Regions from separate parts of the Homo sapiens genome. Here regions 1 and 3 are each linked to region 2. Evidence: promoter capture Hi-C in 16 types of primary human blood cells and fetal thymus (Javierre and others, 2016). All regions are on one chromosome and are shown on one strand. The core of a region is centred on a gene start or on the middle of the fragment in contact, and the rest is flanking DNA. Distances in the headings are between cores, read along the strand shown.

Region 1 (3,574 bases), core at 115-2,614, 520 kb before region 2:
TAGCAGAAGTGGAAGAATAATTGCTTTATTTTCCCTGAGTGCTAACCAAGTGCACCCTGTAGTTGTCTTTTTAATACCGGGAATAAAGCCAGAGTTGGGCAAAATGAATTAAATTTATCCACAAATTGCTGATTTCAAAGTAAATGTAATTATCATGCTTCACACCAGCCTCTTAATTTTCCATATGAATTAGGTATTTTGGTTACTGACAAACTGCATTACAAAATCTACCTAAGGCTGGTACCAGTTTTTAAAATTTCTGAACCAGTTATATGAGAATGTTCCCATTAGTATGAATAACAATTAACAACTTAGTTAATTCACACACTAGAACACAGGCTCTAGAGGCAGAATATCAGAGTTCAAGTCATCTTTACCATTTTCTCCATCTATGACTTTGGGCAGTCACTTCATCTCACTATGCCTCTATTTCTTTGTCTGGAAAACTGAGATTATATAAATAATTCTCTAACTGATAACACTCATTAAACTTCATCCTCTGTTAAGACTATGATGATTATTCATGCACGTACACTCTATCTGGACTATATTCTCCTAGTAAGAGAAAAAAGGCCGATCTGAAAGTAATAATTGCTGGGTTTTGTACTGATAATTTAATATCTGCTGGTGATACCTGATGAAGTAGTCCATGTTTGCTCTTGATATTGTCTTTCCCGAAAGAGTCTTTACCACTTCCCAAACATTGGCCACACCACCTCCAGACTGAGCTTTCCAAAATCAAACCTGATCCTGTCTATCCTACATTTAGATCCCTCTGGACTCTACAGTGTAAGTGCAGACCCTTGGTATGATATACAAGACCTTCCATAATCACATCTCCTCTTGCCTCTCTAGTTCCACTCCTTCTGCCCTATTCAAAGCCTACACTCAATATATTTCTTTTACTATATCACATCTTCTTCATTAGGCTCCCGGATTCTGTCATGCTGTTCATTATCCCAAAGTGATCTTCTTTGAAATTCACATTACTACTCTTTTCTTGATGGTACCAATGATTCTAGCACCCACTATGCTGCCTAAGGCTGCCCTTCTTAAGATTAGATATGGACCTGACCCATCAGGACTTTCCATCATTTTATTACCCTGAAGTTACTTGTTTTTCCATCAAATCCTACTACTTATGGGAAGAAATGTTCTCCAATCCACCTGTTGCCCTCACTCAGATCCCACCCCTGTGCGCCGGGCATTCTGTTGAGGAAAGGGAGGTGCTAACTAACCAGGAACAATGAAGGTAATCGGAACAGGTGCTTTTGTTTAATTCTCAGCTACCTTATAGGCTTCATTGGTTGTATGTGGCTTCTGCGAACCTCTGCTTGTCATCTTTTCACTCTAAACGAGATGAGTTTGTCTCTTAGAATCCATTCGTACCTCCAAGGTGTTCAGGACACAGAAGCAGAGCATAAGTGTAAATTCTGGTGGTCCTGGTGTCATTAGGGAGGAAGTCCTGCCAGAGGCATCCCGACAATGATGAAAATGACTACGATGATAATGACATCAGCTGGAATCTCTTATTTTTCTGTGAATCTACATGACCTTACATTAAATGGCATTTATCCTCACACCTCACATGCATCTCTCTGTAACAAGTGAAGTGAGAAGGGAAGTCTCCTCTCCCATCTCTCCCTTTCCTGTCCTCCATGTTTCAAGCTGGACTTCTCAGCCTTCTCTAAAGCCCCTTTGCTATCCAGTTACTGTGACCTTGTTCATGCTGCTCCTCCTGGCCCCCTTGCTGTATTCTACCATCCTCATCTCTGCAAGTTCCAATATAACTTGCTCAGAGTGTTTCCCCCATAAAGCATTTGTTCCTCCTTGGCTTCTAGTTCATGGATAAGGGTGGGGTGGGATGGGGTGGATGGAGAAAGAAGATGGAGGAAAGAGGGAAGAGGGAGAGTGGAGGGAGAAAGGAAGGGAGGGAAGGAGAGAAAGATTCCCCCTTAATTTTGTCTTTGAAAATTTCTTCAGGACATGAACAAAATCTGAGAAATATATCTCATAAGGCAGTATCAAGCACAATGTCTTTAACAGAAAATATTCAGTAAATATTTGTGGAAGAAATGAAAGAATGAAGGAGAGAAAGAAGGAAGGACAGAGGGATTAAATGATTTTTTCTAAATATAAGTCCTAAATTATTTCAAAAATTTCAGATTCAGATTATTATAAAAATATGTTTTTTCATAAAAGAAAAAAGGCAATTTTCTTTTTTTTTCTTAATTCATCTCACTTTAAGATTTCTGTGTAGATTTGAGGTGAATGTGGTGGGGAATGGGAAAGTGAGGGAGAGGGTTAGGGTGTGAAATATAAAGAGAAGTGAGAAAAATTTAAAATATAAAGAGAAGTGAGAAAAATTTAAACATTTGTTAAACTGGACTTTTTACTAGGAAATTTACTAGGAAATTGCTTTGAAGTTCCTGATAGAACTTGTAAATCTGAATGGTGATAAACTAGTAAACCTGCTTGGAGCAACATTTTTTATATGGCACATAATGAAAAGGCTTACAAGAATCCATATTTTTTAGATAATCAACTCTTGTCTGAGATTGACAACACTTAAAGCTAGAATCCTATATCATGGAATGAGAAATAGATAACAAAAGAGTATCCTATTCTTCTGATAAGGACAATAGCTTATTTTTTAGTGGAAGGGACTTGCAACAGCTCACTATGTACTCAGCAAGTATCAGGCATTATGCCAAGTACTTTACAAAGCTAAAAGTGGATTCTCACCAGGGGTGTACCGGTAGACTCAGGTGGTCAAGTTACACTAATGAGGCAAGAGAATAGGGTCTGGAGGCAGGGAACCTAAGGCCGTTTCACGCTGACTTCCTAGGACTAAATTGAAAGAAAAACCCTAACTTTCCACTGGCTAGGTAACAAAAGGACCAGAGACCACTCCCTTTGCAAAACCCCACTTTTTCTAGGTGGCAGATTGAAAATGGAAAGTATCTCTGATTGGTTGCTTTTTGCAACCAATCAGATGCTTGCATGGGAGTGTGACCTATGAAACTTCACTTCAGCCTCTGATTAACTGCTGTCTGCAACCAATCAGACTGATTGTGGGCCAAGTCTTCGTTTGCATAGAAATGTAACTTTGTAACATCACTTTAGCCTCTGATTGGTTGCAGAAAACTTGCATAGGACTGTGACCTTTGTAACTCAGCCTCTGATTGGTTGCTTTCTGCAACCAATCGGACTGGTTGCAGACCACCACTTCATTTACATGAGGTGAACACCACTTCATTTACATCAGGCTAATGGGAAACCTCTAGGGGGTATTTGGACCTGAGAAGATTCTGCATCCAGGCCCTTGAGCCCCTTATGCTCTGGCCACTCCCACCCTGTGGAGTGTACTTTCGTTTTCAATAAGTCTCTGCTTTTGTTGCTTCATTCTTTCCTTGCTTTGTTTGTGTGTTTTGTGCAATTCTTTGTTCAAAACGCCCAGAACCTGGACACCCTCCACTGGTAACACTAAGTGAGTCAATATGTGCAACCCTGGGCACACAGCATACGTTTTCTTACCTAAAATTGGGGAAAATAAGAGTACCCATCTAATATA
Region 2 (3,589 bases), core at 453-2,952:
TTCTAGAGCTAAAGTGTTATTACACATCAGCAATAGATTCAGATAATACATGCCAACACATCATTGACCTTGAAAGTATTACCCCTAACTACAAAAAGAGAAACCCGTTTTGTACCTCAAACCCTCATCTACTTTGTCTGGCAAGCCCTCTCAGTATAGGTAAAAACTGAGATTCTAATAAGCCCACAGCCTCAGACGTCCAAAGCACACTTAACTGAAGTTCAAAGGCACAGCACATCCTCAGTTCTCTGCATGGAGTTGGATGCCATTTTAAGACATAAATACTGTCTCACTGCTTATGACTGTCACACTTCTTTAAAATAAACTTTCCAACATAAAAAAATTATACATACATAATCATCTTTCTTTGAGCCATAGGATGCGATATAATCTGCATGTTTCTCCAATAACAAAGTGTCCGGTGCATCTGACTTGATAATAACATCCTTCTGTGGAGTGCCCTTTCAAAATAAAGTGGTAATCTCATCAATGTTTACCTCTACAACGTTCTTCTGCCCCACAGCATAGATTCAACATACATCTCAATTTTCACTTGATTTCATCTTGTAATAGGAAAACGTTCCATTTAAAAATTGTAACTAACTAGGGAGGCTGAGGTAGAAGATCGCTTGAGCCAGGGAAATTAAGGCTGCAGTGAACTGAGGTTGTGTCACTGCACTCCATCCTGGGCGACCGGAGACCGACTCAAAAACAAAACCAAAACAACAACAACAACAACAAATTGTATCCAACAAAAAAGAACTTAAATCATTCAGGCTTCGTCTTAGTCACGATTCAGGTAATTTTCAGGTCTCAGAGTAATTCTAGAGCTAAAGTAGTAATAATCAACTTTAGATTCAGAATACATGCCAACTCATCATTGACCCAAAAAATTACCACCAGCATTTCTTGTTGTTCACTTTTCATTCAAAAAGATAAGTAAAAAATAAACACCATAGAATATCAAAGCTTATCATTTCAGGACAACTTACGGTTTACATGTGGCAGAAAGCATATTTTTAAAAAATAAAAAAATCTAACCCTTAACTTGCAAGCGAATTCTTGCTTAATCAAATGCAGGTTTCAAAGCACCTTCTAAGTACCCCAAAAGTTGTTCAAATGTATTAAATAAGCAGTTCCTTTAGCTCCATCTTCTCCACCTTTAATCCGAGTCTCTGTATTTGCAGAAGTCCCCATGTGATGCGGCTCTAGTTCTTTTCGTATCTATATCTTCCTCATTGAGAGTACACTGCAGTCACTATAACAGGTCATGAAGATTACCGGAAGTGATTAAGTACCGAATTTTCTTCTGATCCCATTAAAAATCTTAAAGCGAGACCACATCACTAACGATTTTAAAGAAATCTTTGACACCCCCTCTCCAAGAAAAAAAAAAGCCACCAATCAGCCACAGCTTTTTAGAGGGGTTCAGAAATCGGGCTGCTCAACTCTTAACAGGCCCTCCCTACAGAAGAAGGCCTGGATAAAATTAGAAGCGGCATTGCCCGCGAGGTCTGCAGAAAACGCTGAGTAATATTTCACACTCAAAAAACCTTCCAAGGCCTGTGTCCTAACCATTCTCCAGCACCAGGAAACCAATCCTAAGGTGACCAGTGTGCTTAACCCTACTCCACCCTGTCTGCTACCAACCCATCCGGACAGCAGCGCTAAACTCACACTTACCATGTCTAACAGGGAAAGGAGAGAGCAGGGTCAGTTCCTGGGTAGACTTAGGAGCCGGGCGCCTGCGCAGATGCGCCTCTCAGGCCCCCATCGCGCTCCGATATAGCTGACCACACTTTCGCCTGCAAGGCAGAGCAGTTCCACGGCTGCCGTAGGACCCCACTGATCGCTCATAGGTGTCCTCACTGCCTGCGTCCAAAGTCCTGCGACCATATGCTTGTCCCATAGTCACTCCGATTTGTCTAGAAACAGTTTTAAATAATATTTAAATATCTGAGTTGCTTTTAAGAAATCATTTGTTCTAGCTGGACGCGGTGGCTTACGCCTGTAATCCCAGCACTTTGGGAAGCCGGACAGCAGGATTGCTTGATCCTAGGAGTGTAACCACCCAATATTGTGGTTCACTTTGCCTGCTGCTGACCGATAGCCCATTTATCAAGACAGGGGACTTGCAATGGAGTCTCCCCAAGCAGTATTCAGAGTTTTTAAAGATAATTCGGCGATTAGGGGCTTGGGAAGTAGGGAGTGCTGATGGGTCAGGTTGGAGATGGACTCATAGTGGGTAGACGTGAGTTTTTCTTGCTGTTTTCTGTTCCTGGGTAGGATGGCAGAACTGGTTGAGCCAAATTACCAATCTGGGTGGTTTCAACTGATCCATGGAGAGCAGGGTCTGCAAAATATCTCAAGAACTTATCTTAGGTTTTACAATAGTGATGTTATCCCCAGGAGCAATTTGGGGAGGTTCAGAAACTTGGAGCCAGAGGCTGCATGACCTCTAAACTGTAATTTCTAATCTTGTAGCTAATCTGTTGGTTCTGCAAAGGCAGACTGGTCCCCAGGCAAAAAAGCGGTCTTTTTGGGAAAGGGATATTATCAATTTTGTTTCAGAGTCAAACCATAAACTGAATTCCTCCCTAAATTGGTTCAGCCTAGGCTCAGGAATGAAGAAGGACAGCTTAAAAGTTAGAAGCGGCCGGTGGCTCACGCCTGTAATCCCAGCACTTTGGGAGGCCAAGGCGGGCGGATCACGAGGTCAGGGGATCGAGACCATCCTGGCTAAAACCCCGTCTCTACTACAAATACAAAAAATTAGCCGGGCGTGGGGGTGGGCGCCTGTAGTCCCATCTACTCCTGAGGTTGAGGCAGGAGAATGGCTTAAACCCGGGAGGCGGAGCTTGCAGTGAGCAGAGATCACGCCACTGCACTCCACCCTGGGCGACAGAGCGAGACTAGTCTCAAAAACAAAAGTTAGAAGCAAGATGGAATCCGTTAGGTCTGATTTCTTTCACTGCCATAATTTCCTCAGTTATAATTTTGCAAAGGCGGTTCCAGGAGATCCAGACCAGCCTGGGCAATGTTGCAAGACCCCCGTCTCTACAAATAATAAAAATATGAGCCAGACGTGGTTGCCCAAGCCTGTGGTTTCAGCTACTGGGGAAGCTGAGGTGAGAGAATTACTTGAGCTGTGGGGCAGGGGGTGGAGGCTACAGTGAGCGGTGATAATGCCACTGCACTGCAGGGTGTGAGACAGAACGAGACCATGTCTCAAAAAAATAAATCATTTGTTCTTGAGGCCCTTTGCACTCTGAAAATCTGAAATGGCTGTTAATTAGTAGAGTGCCTGCTTACACGTAGTAAGTGTTCAATGAATATTTTTTAAATGAATATTAATGAAATGTTCACATTTCCTTCCTGTTTGCCTTATCTATCTCAAGGTCCAGCCCTGTACCCGCCCCCTCTCCTCGCCACACACACAGGCCACCCTCCCCACCACCACCACCGCCACCACAAACACTTCTTCGGAGAGTGCTAATAGTAAAAATATTGGAAGTTACTTTTTTTAAAAAAATTATACTGTAAGTTCTAGGGTACATGTGTACAACGTGTAGGTTTGTTACATGGATAT
Region 3 (3,666 bases), core at 334-2,833, 530 kb after region 2:
GGTCTGCTGGAGTTTACTGGAGGTCCACTCCAGACCCTGTTTGCCTGGGTGTCACTGGCAGAATCGCAGAATGGCCAAGATTGCTGCCTGTTCCTTCCTCTGGAAGCTTCGTCCCAGAGGGGCACCTGCCAGATGCCAGCCAGAGCTCTCCTGTATGAGGTGTCTATTGGCGCCTACTGGGAGGTGTCTCCCAGTCAAGATACCCAGGGGTCAGGGACCCACTTGAGAAGGCAGTCTGTCCCTTATTGGAGCTCAAACGCTGTGCTGGGAGATCTGCTGCTCTCTTCAGAGCTGCCAGCAGGGACTTTTAAGTCTGCTGAAGCTGGACCCCCGACCGCCCCTTCCTCCAGGTGCTCTGTCCCAGGGAGTTGGGGGTTTTATCTGTAAGTCCCTGACTGGGGCTGCTGCCTTTTTTTCAGAGATGCCCTGCCCAGAGAGGAGGAAATCTGGAGAGGCAGTCTGGCAGCAGTGGCCTTGCTGAGCTGTGGTGAGCTCCACCCAGTTCCAACTTCCCAACGACTTTGTAAAACCACCTACTCAAGCCACAGCAATGGCAGACACCCCTTCCCTGACGAAGCTCAAGCATCCCAGGTCGAGCTCAGACTGCTGTGCTCAAAGTGAGAGTTTCAAGCCAGTGGATCTTAGCTTTCTGGTCTCCGTGGTTGTGGGAACTGCCAAGCCAGACCACTTGGTTCCCTGGCTTCAGCCCCCTTTCTAGGGGAGTGAACAGTTCTGTCTCACTGGCATTCCAGGCGCCACTGGGGTATGAAAAAAAACTGTGACTAGCTTGGTGTCTGCCCAAATGGCCACCCAGTTTTGTGCTGGAAACCCAGGGCCCTGGTGGAGTGGGCCCTGGAGTGAATCTTCTGGTCTGCGGGTTGCGAAGACCGTGGGAAAAGCTCAAAATCTGGGCCAGAGTGCATGATACAGTCCCTAATGGCTATTTCCTTAGGCTAGGAGAGGGAGTTCCCTGACCCCTTATGCTTCCTGGGTGAGGTGACAACCCACCCTGCTTTGGCTCGCCCTCCCTGGGCTACACCCACTGTCCAACTAGTCCCACTGAGATGTACTGGTTACCTCAGTTGGAAATGCAGAAATCACCCTTTTTCTGAGTAGTTCTCGCTGGGAGCTGCAGACCAGAGCTGTTCCTATTTAGCCATCTTGCCAGCCACCTTGCTGTTTCTTCTTAGACCTCAGGGAGGGGTGTGAGACCCAGTAGAAGCTTTCTCTTTGGAGCAATGCTGTTATGCAGTCTCCAGGCAATTTCCTATGTTAGTCTCAGTGCCTGAGTGGGTCAAGGGGCTCACCCATGGCTAGAATTGCAGGAGTTTGTGTTGGGAATGTGGACCACTAGGGGTCTCTCACCCTTTTCCTGCATCGGAAAGCCTCTCTAGGTTCCCAGCTGATCCTGGCTGAGCATGCTGCCTCTCTTCACTCTTTTTCCATGCCTTAGCTGTTTCCTGTTCACTTTGGCTGTTGAATTCTGGCATTCTTGCTTAGGTGATCTATTCAAAGTGTGATTATCTACTTGTTATTTTGGTTCTTCTTTGTAGTGCAAGTGGGTACTATATGCTTCTCATCAGCCATTTTGAAGTCCCTCCCTTTTAAGCCTTGCATCCAATTCAGCATCTATGTGAAGCAATAGCAACTTAGTTTTCAATTCACTGACCTCTGACAAAATGGCAAAAATATCTCACAAATCTCTTTGATTGAACTTACTACCAGTATCCACACACAATTTGTTTAATGTTTAAAATTTGAATCAAAATAATATATGCATGTGAAAACAAACAAAATAGTAATGAAGAGTTTATAATAAAAGCAATGGTCTCTCATTCTAGGACTTTTCACCCACACTTTCCTTTCACTGGGACAATCTCTTCTCTCTCTGGTTTTAGTTCTTCTGGCAGTTGGTTTTTACAGAACTTTAAATAATAAGCTTATTTTATTTTGTGCTTATTAAGTTTAGATAATATCCACTGACAGTCTGCTATGGGAAATGAATATTTCTAACTCATATACATTATCTTACTGATCCCCTTCACCCATGTTTGGTAGTTAAATTACTACTTTTGGATTGCCTTGTGGTTACTTTTATGACTTTAAATAGTATGCAATACCTCTACTTCTTGTTCTGCTAACTTTTGTCAGTGTCTCAGCTCATCTTTATGTAAGAGGATATTATCACCCCTACCCTTCTGTCCATCTTTTCGTTCCCTTTCACCTTTTACTTTCTGGAAATACTTTCTATAAATACCATTTTACATGATCAGATTTGTCACCATTTATGTTCAGTTCTGGAACTTCAACAGAATCTTGCATGATGTATTGGTAGGTTGGTTCCAGAATTTGAAAATGATTTTAAAAACTTCTGCTTTGTCATAACTCTACAAACTGTATTCACTGTCAGGCCATTACTTTCTTATTTGTACCATGTCCTTGATATCAAAGCCAAATCTCACACTTCATTAGCAGCATAGGATCATCTCACATTTTAGTTTGCTTCAACATAGTGACTTTCTAACATAATGTTTTGTTTACCCACAAGGTTTTTCTTGGATAGCCTTCATCAGAACAATGTGCTTTTCTGCCATCTCAATCATACTATTTTTCAGGGGCCCCTTTTCCCTGAAGGTCTACCTTGCAGAGCTGCTGTCCTTTTGCTTTACTCAGGACCTGGTAAATTGTAGGCCTATTGCATAGCTTTAATTCTGGGGCTTCTCTACCTTGTTAAATTGTCTTTTTCTAGAGTTAACAGATTTATGAAACAAAAGCACAGAATGCCCAGTTAACTTTTTAATTTCATATAAATAATAATTTTTAGCGTAAGTATGTGAATTTATTGTTTCCTATATCCCAAGGCTGCCTCTCTTTCTGTTGACCCACCTGTTTTCATGGAGAATATTCTCAATTACCTTCCTAAAAAAAGAAAGCATAAGAAGTAAACTTGCTGAGTTCCTATAAATGTCTTCTTTGTCTCTTCATCTTTTCTTTTCTCTTTTTATATTTGATTGATGGTATAGCTATAGAAGTGTAGATTGAAAAACAATTCTTTTCAGAAATGTGAAGACATTGCTCCATCATTTTTGTTATCCAGAATGTCTAATGCCAGTAGAATTCACATACATCATGATAAGTATTTTCCTTTTAGAAAGTACTTAAAATCATTTCTTTATTCTTAGTGTTCTGAAATCTCACAATTTGATAGAGGCCTGTTTAATTCTTTCTTTGAGTCCTTAGTAAGTCCTTTAATCCTGAAGAACTATGACTCTCATCAGCTCTGGACAATTTTCTTCTGTTATTTCTTTGCGATTTTTATCCCTTCCATTTTTTCAGTTGTCTTTCTGGAACTATTGGTCATACCTGGATTCGTCTCAGTGCCTCTCCTTTTTTTCCTTCTATTTTTCATCTCTGACTTTTTGTTCTGTATTTTAGAATTTCTTAATTTTTTCCATCTCTTCTTTTGATTTTTTTTTGTTTTGGCAATTATATTTTAATCTTTATAAGCCTTTCTTGTTCTCCAATTATTCTTTTACAATAACATCACATTTTTATTTTGTGAATAATCTGCTTAAATTTCTCTGAATATATTAGAGGTTTTAAAGTTCCCTCCTATGCCCTTAATTATTTTAATAATTTAATTTTTGTTTGTTTGTTTAGTTTTTC

Evidence for each region. Contacts are between HindIII fragments. The CHiCAGO score rates a contact against its expected background, and 5 or more counts as called.
Region 1: a contact is called between a fragment that was not itself captured here and the fragment with the promoter of RABGGTB in region 2, in 1 of 17 cell types (non-activated CD4 T cells). The highest score is 5.1, in non-activated CD4 T cells.
Region 3: a fragment that was not itself captured here is called in contact with the fragment with the promoter of RABGGTB in region 2 in 2 of 17 cell types (M0 macrophages and M2 macrophages); the score reaches 5.8 in M0 macrophages.

Annotation. Positions count from the first base shown.
Region 1 is chr1:76,302,683-76,306,256 of GRCh38, reverse strand. All of the region lies in intron 1 of ST6GALNAC3 (ST6 N-acetylgalactosaminide alpha-2,6-sialyltransferase 3), which reads right to left. Among named protein-coding and RNA genes, the nearest start is that of ST6GALNAC3, 230 kb to the right of the region's middle. RefSeq lists an enhancer at 2,474-3,113. The HindIII fragment of the contact is 4,943 bases long and covers 1-3,574 here.
Region 2 is chr1:75,784,369-75,787,957 of GRCh38, reverse strand. It overlaps RABGGTB (Rab geranylgeranyltransferase subunit beta), which reads right to left and starts at 1,702. Exons shown (of 9, transcript NM_004582.4): 1 at 1,684-1,702; 2 at 354-461. The coding sequence starts at 1,686. It overlaps SNORD45C (small nucleolar RNA, C/D box 45C), which reads right to left and starts at 886; the gene lies at 809-886. It overlaps SNORD45A (small nucleolar RNA, C/D box 45A), which reads right to left and starts at 69; the gene lies at 1-69. RefSeq lists a silencer at 1,611-1,670 and enhancers at 1,731-1,960, 2,901-3,120. The HindIII fragment of the contact is 7,492 bases long and covers 972-3,589 here.
Region 3 is chr1:75,255,256-75,258,921 of GRCh38, reverse strand. All of the region lies in intron 6 of SLC44A5 (solute carrier family 44 member 5), which reads left to right. Among named protein-coding and RNA genes, the nearest start is that of LHX8, 120 kb to the right of the region's middle. The HindIII fragment of the contact is 717 bases long and covers 1,225-1,941 here.